Regions from separate parts of the Homo sapiens genome. Here region 2 is linked to region 1. The links are contacts of gene promoters, found by promoter capture Hi-C in blood cells and fetal thymus (Javierre and others, 2016). All regions are on one chromosome and are shown on one strand. Each heading gives the region's core, a stretch centred on a gene start or on the middle of the fragment in contact. The rest is flanking DNA. Distances are from core to core; before and after follow the strand shown.

The links. The method cuts DNA at HindIII sites, captures the fragments that hold promoters and counts their contacts. A CHiCAGO score of 5 or more calls a contact.
Region 2: a fragment that was not itself captured here is called in contact with the fragment with the promoter of IFT56 in region 1 in 1 of 17 cell types (naive CD4 T cells); the score reaches 5.4 in naive CD4 T cells.

Annotation. Positions count from the first base shown.
Region 1 is chr7:139,129,086-139,135,308 of GRCh38, reverse strand. It overlaps IFT56 (intraflagellar transport 56), which reads right to left and starts at 1,531. Exons shown (of 18, transcript NM_024926.4): 1 at 1,449-1,531; 2 at 517-654. The coding sequence starts at 1,451. RefSeq lists enhancers at 1,515-1,694, 1,412-1,706. The HindIII fragment of the contact is 9,761 bases long and covers 1-1,876 here.
Region 2 is chr7:138,903,800-138,909,192 of GRCh38, reverse strand. KIAA1549 reads left to right here. Exons shown (of 20, transcript NM_001164665.2): 5 at 72-202; 6 at 2,091-2,274; 7 at 4,112-4,171. Among named protein-coding and RNA genes, the nearest start is that of KIAA1549, 75 kb to the left of the region's middle. The HindIII fragment of the contact is 1,215 bases long and covers 826-2,040 here.

The DNA of each region.
Region 1 (6,223 bases), core at 282-2,781:
TTTTGTTTTGTTTTTTTTTTTTTTTTTTTTTGAGACGGAGTCTCGCCTTGTAGCCAGGCTGGAGTGCAGTGGCATGATCTTGGCTCACTGCAACCTCCGCCTCCCGGGTTCAAGCGATTCTCCAGCCTCAGCCTCCCGAGTAGCTGGGACTACAGACACGTGCCACCATGCCCAGCTAATTTTTGTATTTTCAATAGAGACGGGGTTTCACCATGTTGGCCAGGATGGTCTCGATCTCTTGACCTTGTGATCTGCCCGTCTCGGCCTCCCGAAGTGCTGGAATTACAGGCATGAGCCACCGCGCCCGGCCAAGTTTAGTTTTTTAGTTCGTTTTTTATCAGGTTTATAGCTAACTTGGAATCTGGAATCTGTGCCTGACTAGATTTACAGGGGATTTGTACAGGAAGCCCCAGAATGCACCCACCTATTTCAAGAGCATAGCAAACAGCATTCACCCAAGCATTCATCTACAGTCTGGTATTCATACACTAAGAAGCAACGTTCTTTGGGCATTACCTCCAACAGGGTAATAGCTCCAGTGAAATCTCTTTTTGAAAGTAGCTCCTCTAGTTTTGGAATCTTCCTACCTTTCTTCTTTCTTTTGTCAGTGTGCTGTACGCCTCTGCCTACAGCAGGTTTGGCCCTTGAAAGCATCTGTAAAAGAAACAAAGACAGCTGTATGGTCCAATTCTGATTATCAGATTTAAACTGAGAGTGACAGCTCTGTAATTTATAAGTCAAGGCCGGGCACAGTGGCTCATGCCTGTAATCCCAGCACTTTGAGAGGCGAAGGCGGCGGATCACGAGGTCAGGAGTTGGAGACCAGCCTGGTCAATATGGTGACACCGCATCTCTACTAAAAATACAAAAATTAGCCGGGCGTGGTGGCATGCGCCTGTAGTCCCAGCTACTCGGGAGGCTGAGGCAGAAGAAACGCTTGAACCTAGAGGCAGAGGTTGCAGTGAGCCAAGATCGCGCCACTGCACTCCAACCTGGGCGACAAAGCGAGCCTCCATCTCAAAAAAAAAAAAAAAATTATAAGTCAAATCCTTAACAACGAACCCCAGGGAAGCCTATTCAAACTCGTTTTGTAACAGGTATTCTACTAGAAGAGCCATCAGCCAATACTTAGGAAGGACCAAACAGCTACTCCCAACTTTTATCTTCTCTGGCTAGAGATGCTTTCGCATTGCTTCTGTCATCTCAGCTTTCCCTTCCTCTGCTTCCCATCCCACGAGTGGTTTAAATGTGAGTAAACGGAAAAGCAGGAGGGAAGAAAGCACCGAGGTATTTACAGTTGCATCCCTGTCCCCCGTGGGAACACAGGGAGAGCTGGGGATTACTCTCTGCGGACACACCTAGACTTCACACAGAAGTGTGCTGGGAACCTCTAATCGCCAGCCTCAGGACCTACTCAAAGTACTCCCTTACTATTCAGAGCCACTAACCATCTTGACGTCGGTCTTGTGAGTCCCCACCACACAGCGAAGGCCGCGCCTCAGCGTTTCGCCGCATCCACACAGCACGTTCTGTCTCCACGGTAACCCCGCCTGGACGCTGGTACGAACGGGAGAAAAGCTCGTTGGAGAACCAGCGCCCGCGGCTTCTTGGTTCCGTGCAGCTTCTGCCGCGGAAGAGCCGAGGTTCCTCTTGGGAGGAGAGCGTCGTTCTCTGGGCTGAGAGCGAAAGTTTGGTTGTCTCTATTTATGAGTTTACTTTAGGAAAAGGCGAATTGGAATGGCATTGTTTTTCAAATGCAAGTTTTCTGGGAAAGAAATTTTCAGGGACCACTTCTGTTTGGGGCCGTGTTGGACTCCATAGCAACCCTTGACTATGTGCACCGCAGAATCTTGGTCTCTGGCTGGTGCGGGAAGCTTAGAAAATTTCTGCTGAAGGAGTTGTAGTTCTGTGATTTGGAAGCAGGAGTGCACCAAAATACAGTTTCCTATTTCCACAGATACACCTACACACAATAGAGAACTGTAATAAATATTTGTCGATTGGATGACTTAATTTATCTATCTTACTCCTGAACCCAGTTAATACAGGGGCAACCACAGTCTTTAAATTCACGAAATCGTGGAATGTTAGAGTTGGAAGGGACCTTACAGGACCTCTGGTCAACCCCTCAGAATTAACAGACTGAAGAACTAACATCTTGTTAGTTAACTAATGTCAGCCTAAAATAACCAAAAAGCTCAGGGATCCAGTTGAAAGAGTTTATTCAAGTGCAAAGTGTGAGGGCGGCTATCCCGGGAACCACTGACAGCAAAGAATGGTGATCAGTGCTCCCTGATGCAGGGAAAGGTGAGGGTCATTTATATCACCAAAAACAGGAGTGCTGTACGTAATTACAGCATTTTCTAGATGAGGCTAACGTACACAGAAGATTCAATTCACTACTATTGATTACACTGTAAGGGGGTTGTTTAATATTCTATTGTAAAGAGGTAACAATCACAAGGGTCTCTATCTCCAACGTCATTTAGTCTGAATAAAGAATAAAAAATCTGGTTAATATATAACATCAACACAAAGATCAGGAAGCAACAGTCATGCACCAGAGAAGAAAAACAGCCATGTTCTGTGATTTAGTTTACAGGGCTTAACTTTTCCCCTTGGCATAGTACGTTTGGAAAGTGCTGAAATTTTCTTTTCACATTTTCCCCTTTTCTTCAAAAGCTTTCAGAGAAAGCATTATAGAAGAATTATATTCTCAGGCCGTGTATTTGATCAAACCTCATGTCACTAGGAAGGCCCCTTCCTGGCAGTCACATCCCAGGGAGGAGGGGAAATTGGAAAGGACCAAGTCCGAATTATAAAGCAACAAGAGAAAGTAGTTCTGGAACCTGATTCAGGCTACACGGCTGCCTCTTCAATCAAACAATTCTCTGAGTAGTCTTTGTTCTACACATTTTCTCAGCTGTGTGTTGACCCAATTGCAGATAAATACCATAACAGCTCTGCAGACAAAGGCAAGACAAAACACAAACTATGATAATTCCTAAAATACATAACAGCTTTTGCCACCAAGTTCCCCAAGATCCAAATCAATTACTTAACCAGTAGCTTAGAGAGGGTTTTGGATCCGAAAGGTTAATTATTAGAGTTTTTCAAATCAGTTATTAATTTGGTGACGTTATTTGATTCATCTGGGATATAAACACAGCATTCAGTTTCTGTCATAGCACAGATTCCTCCTTGGGCTGCAGTGAGTATGTCTAAGACCATACAGTTTTGTAATACAGTCTTCTCATGACAGTAACTTCATTATTTAATAATGAGACATTCATGTGGCTGTTATTTAGGGCCTTTTGTGTGTAATTGGTTAGGGCCTGTACATGGCAAATGACATCTTCAATACACAGTTGTGGTACAAAGACAGAAGTGAATCTAAGTGGCTTCTGGAAGGTAAGCACTTTCTATTTCTTCTGTTAAAGACACTATTGCGTAAACCTTTACAGTAAGTTCCAGATTCATCCTTTAAATAACATGCGTCTGTAAACCAAACAACATTAGCCTAAGTAAGAAAAGTCTCTTGCAGATCAGTCCTAGGAGAAAACAAGTTTATCAGTTAGAGTTATGCAATTGTGTGGTGTTTCATCTGAAAGTGAAGGAAGAAGAGTTGCAATATTTAGCTTGTTACATCTAGAGATGGTGACATGAGAAGCTAAAAGAAGTGAAACTTTCTATGAAGTTAGTCTACTCATTGAATAACGTTGAGTGTGGTTCAAGTTTAGCAATGCTTCCACAGAATGAGGGATGAAAACAGTAAGGGGAGTTTTAAACAATTTCTTTTCTCTCAGAGTGTAAGGAGAAAAGGAAAGGCCCCTTTAAGTTCCATGGAGCACCCCCATTCTTTATTATCTGACTCCACCTGTTGTTCTTTCCTTTTTAGTTTTTGGCAGTTCGTTTTAATGTGATCAGGCTTTTTGCATTAATTGAAAGTGTATGGTTAAGTCTATTTGCGGATTTATAAGGATATCTTGAAGGTCCAAATTGTGTGGACATTTGTTTCGACTGTAAAATCATAATTTTATTAGCCTTGCTCTTTTGTTTGGCCTCCTTCTCAGATTTGTCTTCAGTTATGAGACAACTGGGCAGCAAGACTGACCAAATTATGATTTTGAGAAGTGGCCCAGCGAGGGTTTTGTCTTTTCATTATTAGTGCTAATTCTTCATCTAACCTATTTATAAAACTGGAGTTGAGAAGAATATCATTTTGATTATTAGCTTAGCTTTCTTCAGATAAACCCGAATATTGTTTAAGTTTACTCACACCTCTCAAAATATGATATTACTGACTCATCTGGATTTTGTTGACCTTGTTGTATTTTACTACAGTCAACTACTCTTAGAAACAGTGAGGAGTGGCTTGAAGCAATGCCTTTGCAGTTTTGTGTGTCTGCCTACAGTCCTGAGCATTTATGAAAGTCTTCTAAGAGATTTCTATAATGGGCCTTGTCTGTCTAATCTTTTTTTTTTTCTTTATACTTTAAGTTCTAGGGTACATGTGCACAACGTGCAGGTTTGTTACATATATATACATGCGCCATGTTGGTGTGCTGCACCCATTAACTCATCATTTACATTAGGTATATCTCCTAATGCTATCCCTCCCCCCTCCCCCCACCCCATGACAGGCCCCAGTGTGTGATGTTCCCCTTCCTGTGTCCAAGTGTTCTCATTGTGTCATAGCGTTCTCACTGTGTCATAGTGTTCAGTTCCCACCTATGAGTGAGAACATGCAGTGTTTGGTTTTTTGTCCTTGCGATAGTTTGCTGATAATGCTGGTTTCCAGATTCATCCATGTCCCTACAAAGGACATGAACTCATCCTTTTTTATGGCTGCATTGTATTCCATGGTATATATGTGCCACATTTTCTTAAACCAGTCTATCATTGATGGACATTTGGGTTGGTTCCAAGTCTTTGCTATTGTGAATAGTGCCACAATAAACATACGTGTGCATGTGTCTTTATAGTAGCATGATTTATAATCCTTTGGGTACATACCCAGTAATGAGATGGCTGGGTCAAATGGTATTTCTAGTTCTAGATCCTTGAGGAATCGTCACACTGTCTTCCACAATGGTTGAACTAGTTTACAGTCCCACCAACAGTGTAAAAGTGTTCCTATTTCTCCACATCCTCTCCAGCACCTGTTGTTTCCTGACTTTTTAATGATTGCCATTCTAACTGGTGTGAGATGGTATCTCATTGTGGTTTTGATTTGCATTTCTCTGATGGCCAGTGATGATGAGCATTTTTTTCATGTGTGTGTTGGCTGCATAAATGTCTTCTTTTGAGAAGTGTCTGTTCATATCGTTCGCCCACTTTTTGATGGGGTTGTTTGTTTTTTTCTTGTAAATTTGTTTGAGTTCTTTGTAGATTCTGGATATTAGCCCTTTGTCAGATGAGTAGATTGCAAAAATTTTCTCCCATTCTATAGGTTGCCTGTTCACTCTGATGGTAGTTTCTTTTGCTGTGTAGAAGCTCTTTAGTTTAATTAGATCCCATTTGTCAATTTTGGCTTTTGTTGCCATTGCTTTTGGTGTTTTAGACATGAAGTCCTTGCCCATGCCTGTGTCCTGAATGGTATTGCCTAGGTTTTCTTCTAGGGTTTTTATGGTTTTAGGTCTAACATTTAAGTCTTTAATCCATTTTGAATTAATTTTTGTATAAGGTGTAAGGAAGGGATCCAGTTTCAGCTTTCTACATATGGCTAGCCAGTTTTCCCAGCACCATTCATTAAATAGGGAATCCTTTCCCCATTTCTTGTTTTTGTCAGGTTTGTCAAAGATCAGATGGTTGTAGATGTGTGGTATTATTTCTGAGGGCTCTGTTCTGTTCCATTGGTCTATATCTCCGTTTTGGTACCAGTACCATCCTGTTTTGGTTACTGTAGCCTTGTGGTATAGTTTGAAGTCAGGTAGCATGATGCCTCCAGCTTTGTTCTTTTGGCTTAGGATTGTCTTGGCAATGCGGGCCCTTTTTTGGTTCCATATGAACTTTAAAATAGTTTTTTCCAATTCTGTGAAGAAAGTCATTGGTAGCTTGATGGGAATGGCATTGAATCTATAAATTACCTTGGGCAGTATGGCCATTTTCACGATATTGATTCTTCCTGTCCATGAGCATGGAATGTTCTTCCATTTGTTTGTGTCCTCTTTTATTTCGTTGAGCAGTGGTTTGTAGTTCTCCTTGAAGAGGTCCTTCGCAT
Region 2 (5,393 bases), core at 184-2,683, 230 kb after region 1:
TCTCTTGATTCCTTAATACTTCAGAAGCACAAACACCTCATTTATGGGACTTTGATTGCTTTTCTTTTCAGTACTTCAGTTTGTGCCTCCGAGTGTGGATACTGGCTTCTGCAACTTCACCCAGCGCATTGAGAAAGGCCTAATGACAGCTCTCTTTGAAGTGAGAAAACACCACCAGGGAACGTATAACCTCACGGTGCAGGTGAGAATATCACTGAATGCAGAGCAGAAGGCTTTAGCCCTTGAAGGGGAAATTGTTCCACATTGTTTAAGATGTGCTTAACTCTTATTCCCTCCAGTGGCGGAAACCCAGTTTATGTGAGTCGGGATTGATCTATTCCTGTGGCGTAAGGTCGGCATAGCGTGCACAGGCTGAGCATCTTTGAGGGTTGCAGAGTAGCTGATACCCAGGGAGCTCAGATATGGTGAGCTGAAGAAACATGACCATATTCAGGAAATTCAAGAATTACCTAGAAAGGAATGGTATCAACCTAAATATCCAATGGGGGAATGCCTACCCATACTGTTGTTTCCATATAGCTACTAAGAACGGGTGTTGTACGTATCATATGGAAACTGCTGATGTTTTTATGTTTCTTTGATTTTTTTCCCTCTACATTCTTTCCTCTCTCTTTCCAAAATGGATGTTAAAATAGATTTTGGTGCTCCTGGATCCACTTTCCATGTTTCTTATTTTTTCCTCATATTTTCCATCTCTTTATTCTCTGTTTTTACAGATTTACTAAATGTCGTCCTCCAAGTCATGAATTTAGTCCTTAGCTGTGTCCATTATGTTATGCAATCCCTCTACTGAATTTTTAAGCTTTTTGTTCATTGTTCTTTGCTCCATTTTCATTGTAGGCTTTCCTGCGATGATGCAGTGTCACCTTAAAAGTCTCTGAGGACGTTAATTAGAATTGTTAAAATGCGTCTTCTGTTTCCTAAGTCATTCCTGTTTTCTCTGCAGTCCTTGCTCTGCATGTTGATCTCGGTGCTTTGCTTTCGTGCTGTTAGTTTCTGTAAATCTGGAGACTGTTGGTTTGTTGTTAGGAATGAAGAACCAAGTTGTTCATTTTAGTAGCTGGCACAGCTTTCCCCTTGAGCTGTGGGGATCTCTTTCTACGTCAGCTCCATCTCCTGGTGGGAAAATTCGTCGGAGCGCTGGGTCTGGGGCAGAATATGTCAGCGTGGGCTTCTCTCTGGGTGCAGTGTGTGGTCAGAGACAAGCAGACAGGGAACACCCTCCTTCCAGCATCTAGATAAAGAGGTTCTTCCTAGGGGATGGGGCACTTTAGTGTGTGTCTCAGGGCAGAGCTAGCTGCGTTTTCATTCATTTTCTTTCCTTCTTCGGTGTGCACAGGAGTTATCTTAGCCTCTGCCCACCTTCTTGGTTAGGGCCCAGACCCACCATAGTCCTCTTAGGCAGGAGTTTGTTTTCCTCAGGAGGCAGTCTTGTTCTGGGTGAGGGCCTGGCTGCTGCTAGCACCTCTGTTGGCCTGGGTGTGGCAGTTAGGAAGGACGGAGGAGGAAGGCAATACACTCAGCTCTTTGGCACAGCCTTGTAATTAATTATACTGATTACCACTGTGTAGCCTGCTCTTGGTCTCATTCCTGCTGATCTCTGCCACAGAGCCCCTCCTGGTCCTCTTGGAGAGCGTGGCCCTTGGCTCTGCTGCAGCCCATGCTTGTGTATGTTTTGGATTCTGGCTTTCTCTGTTCTGGTTTATATCAATCCAATCCCATCCTTTCTTCATCCCCCAGAGGTTTGACGGAATCTCTAGTTTTCTTCCATTCTCAGTGCTGTTGTGGATTTATTCCCCTGTGTTCAGCTTATTGTTATTTCAGTGGCATTTGGGGTGGGAGGAGCTGTACATGTGCTCAGTTCATCACTTAATGTAAGAAACATTTTCCATAAACTGAGCAGTTAAACTCTTACAAAAGGGAACCAGGTTAGAAAGCCAGTTACGTTTCCTTTAAAAACTTTACCTCCTTTAAAAAAATCGGTGAGAGGACCTGTGAGAGAGAAATCATGGTTAAGCTTTCAGCAGAATGTTTTATTATAGAAGCTTATTCTGACTTTATTCTTTCAGATCTTGAATATCACCATCAGTTCCTCAAGGGTGACTCCTCGGCGGGGCCCGGTGAATATCATCTTTGCGGTTAAAAGCACACAGGGATTTTTGAATGGGTCGGAAGTGAGCGAGCTGCTCAGAAACTTGAGTGTGGTGGAGTTCAGTTTCTATCTGGGATACCCAGTGCTGCAGATCGCAGAGCGTGAGTACAGCCCTCTTGGACATGCTGGGGAGGTGATGGCGGGCATTTTTGGTGGAAGACCTCTTCTTAAAATTTTTTTAGTTTTTTAAAAGACTTGATTTTTTAAAAATTATTTTTCCATAAGGCGTTGGGGTACAGGTGGTATTTGGTTGCACGAGTAAGTTATTTAGTGGTGATTTTTGAGATCCTGGTGCACCCATCACCCGAGCAGTATACACTGCTCCACATTTGTAGTCTTTTATCCCTCCTCCCGCCACTCTTCCCCCCAAGTCTCCAAAGTCCATTGTATCATTCTTATGCCTTTGTGTCCTCATAGCTTAGCTCCCACATATCAGTGAGAACATACGATGTTTGGTTTTCCATTCCTGAATTATTTCACTTAGAATAATAGTAAAAGACTTGAGTTTTTTTAGTGAAGTTTTTGGATTCACAGCAGATATGATCGGAGAGTTCACAGATTTCCCATATACCTCCTGCTTCCGCACATTCATAACCTCCATTATCAGCATCCCCCAGCACAGTGGCCCATTTGTTACAGTGATCAACCTGCATTGGTTGATCCTGCATCATTGGTTGAACCTGCATCATCATCCATAGCCCATAGTTTACATTAAGGTTCACCCTGGGTGTCGTGCATTCTGTGGGTTTGAACAAATGTGTAATGACATGCAAATGGCATGGATTCTCCATTTTAGTATCATACAGAGTATTTTCACCTGGACCACTTTTTTCAAATGAAATATCTGATTTGAGTGCCAGAATATAAATCTGATAAAACTGGATTCAGGCCAGATGGGTCTGCAGAGCCCTGCTCACCCACCGTGCCTGACTTTATTATTTGGAGAGTAAAGGGGTGCTATCAAAAAGTACACGAATTCTGGAAAAGGCATAATTTAGGGAGGACGAATCTGTGGTTGTCAGAGCTTAAGGGCCGCAGGAAAGTTTGACTACAAAAGGGTAGCAGAAGGCAGTGTTTTGGGGGTTGTGAAACTGTTCTATATCTTCATTGTGGTGATGATTATGTGAATATATACACATTTATCAAAACCCATAAAACTGTATACTGAAAAGAGTGACATTTACTGTGTAAATTTTAAAATAAAAACAATAAGTGAAAACATGAAACCTTTCTTCCTGACTGAAGCAACTAGCTTCACAATGCCAATGGAGGCAGTGGGGGAAAGGGGAGACGTTTATTTAAAAAAAAAAAATAGTAGATTCCAGAGTTGAAATCAGGCCAAAAAATTCCAATTCTTTTTCAAAATGAAACAACCAAATGGCCTAATGATTCGTAGTGTATTTTAGTGTATTGTTAATTAAACTAAAAAGAATAACTTTACAGAAGTTATTCTATATGAAAGTAGACAGAGATAAAGCTGTTATTTACAAAGAGCCGCTTTCAGTTGTGCTCAGTGTGTGTATGGCTAAAATGAGGATGCCGGACGGCGGGGCACACTGGCTGGTCCTGGGCAGGTCAACGCATGTGGTCACTTTACCCTGAGACCTTGCTGGGAAAGCCAGGGCTCTGAGGGGCACGGTGTGAACATGGATTGCTGTGGAACAGTGACATTCAAAGGAGAACTTGCCGGTGACCTCTCTGTGAAGCAGTGTCCTGTGACATAGCTGGAGCGGCCCTTCTTTTCTTTTTATCTCTCTCTTTTTCCTTGAGACTAATGTGTTCAGAAATGGCTACTGTCCACGTCCTCACGCTAATCTGACATTTTGTTCTTTCACATTTAGAGCTAAATAGTAAAGACGATGTGTTGGGACTTTGTTGTAAACATGGCTTTGTTTTTACAGATATTTTTCTCCTTCCCTAATTCTTTCCCTTTTGTAGCCTTCCAGTATCCACAGCTCAACTTATCTCAGTTGCTGAAGTCCTCTTGGGTCAGAACAGGTATGTTTAACTTATGTAATATTTTGGGAACTGTAAGGAGAAGAAGTCTATGCAGGCGTATTGAGAATGATGCTGCCTTTCTTGTTTCCTAAATTTAGGGCAAAATGTACCTTACATTCTTGGCAAAGAATGAATGGAAAGGGATTCAAATTTGGCTGTGGGAATATATCCCACTGAGTTATAGAACAAAAAGGACTGACTTTCTTTAAAATTCATACATCAAGTTCAGGGCAGAGTCTAACAGGAACTGACAATCTTCTGACCCAGAATAGGGTGAGGTTTAGAAGCAAGGATCTCTCTCTTGTTTTATTTTTTTTTTTCTAAAAGTGTTATTTGTTTAGTTTAATAAGGACAAGCAGGGTGGCTTGGCACCTGGGAAGCTTTTTTTTTTTTTTTTTTTGTCTTAGGGGAGTGGGTCAGATATTTAGAGGTATGGCATTGCAGTTGAAGGCCTTTCTAACCTAGTGCACAAAAGTCTGAACAGTACTTACGTACTCACCAGCTGTCCAGTGTGCATGCAGCACAGGAACTAGCTGGGCACGAGAGAGCATGTGGGGTAGTGATAGTTGCCATTCACGGGGTTCCTGCATCTTGCAAGTTCTCCTTGCCGAACACACAGCATCCCACGTCAAGGTCCTATCGCTTTGCATGGTGCCATCCGCGGTCTTTTCCAGATAATTTCTATAGCAATTAAGTAACTTGCCCATGGTTGTATCTCAAAGAAAACTTAAACCAGTTCTGGTTGAAAAGCACATGCTCCTTCCTCCCAGACCACACTGGCAAGTGATTGTCTGTTGAGATCATCTTGTCTGAAATAGATAACTAAAGATGGGCAGGCTTCCTTTTTTCAAGTTAGTTTGTGAGTCCAAGTCTCAAGGCAAGACAATGAACTCACACCAATTCCAGAAGTGTTGAGATAAGTGCAGACAAAATGTTTGATCTTGCGTAGGCGCCCTTTGCGCCAAAGCTCCTGCAGTGCTGAGTTCCTGGGACTTCTGGCCGCCAGTCTGGGTAACACTGAGAGCTTGGAGCTCTTGTGGGCTGCATTTCCTGGACTCTCCCCATTCATGATCACTTTTTCTCCTTTTGATGTTTTCTGTCTAGGAATTGGCATTTTATGGCAATCTTGCATTAATTTCAAATACATATGTGCGCGCGCGCGCGCGCGCACACACACACACACACACACACACACACACACACACACACACACACACACACA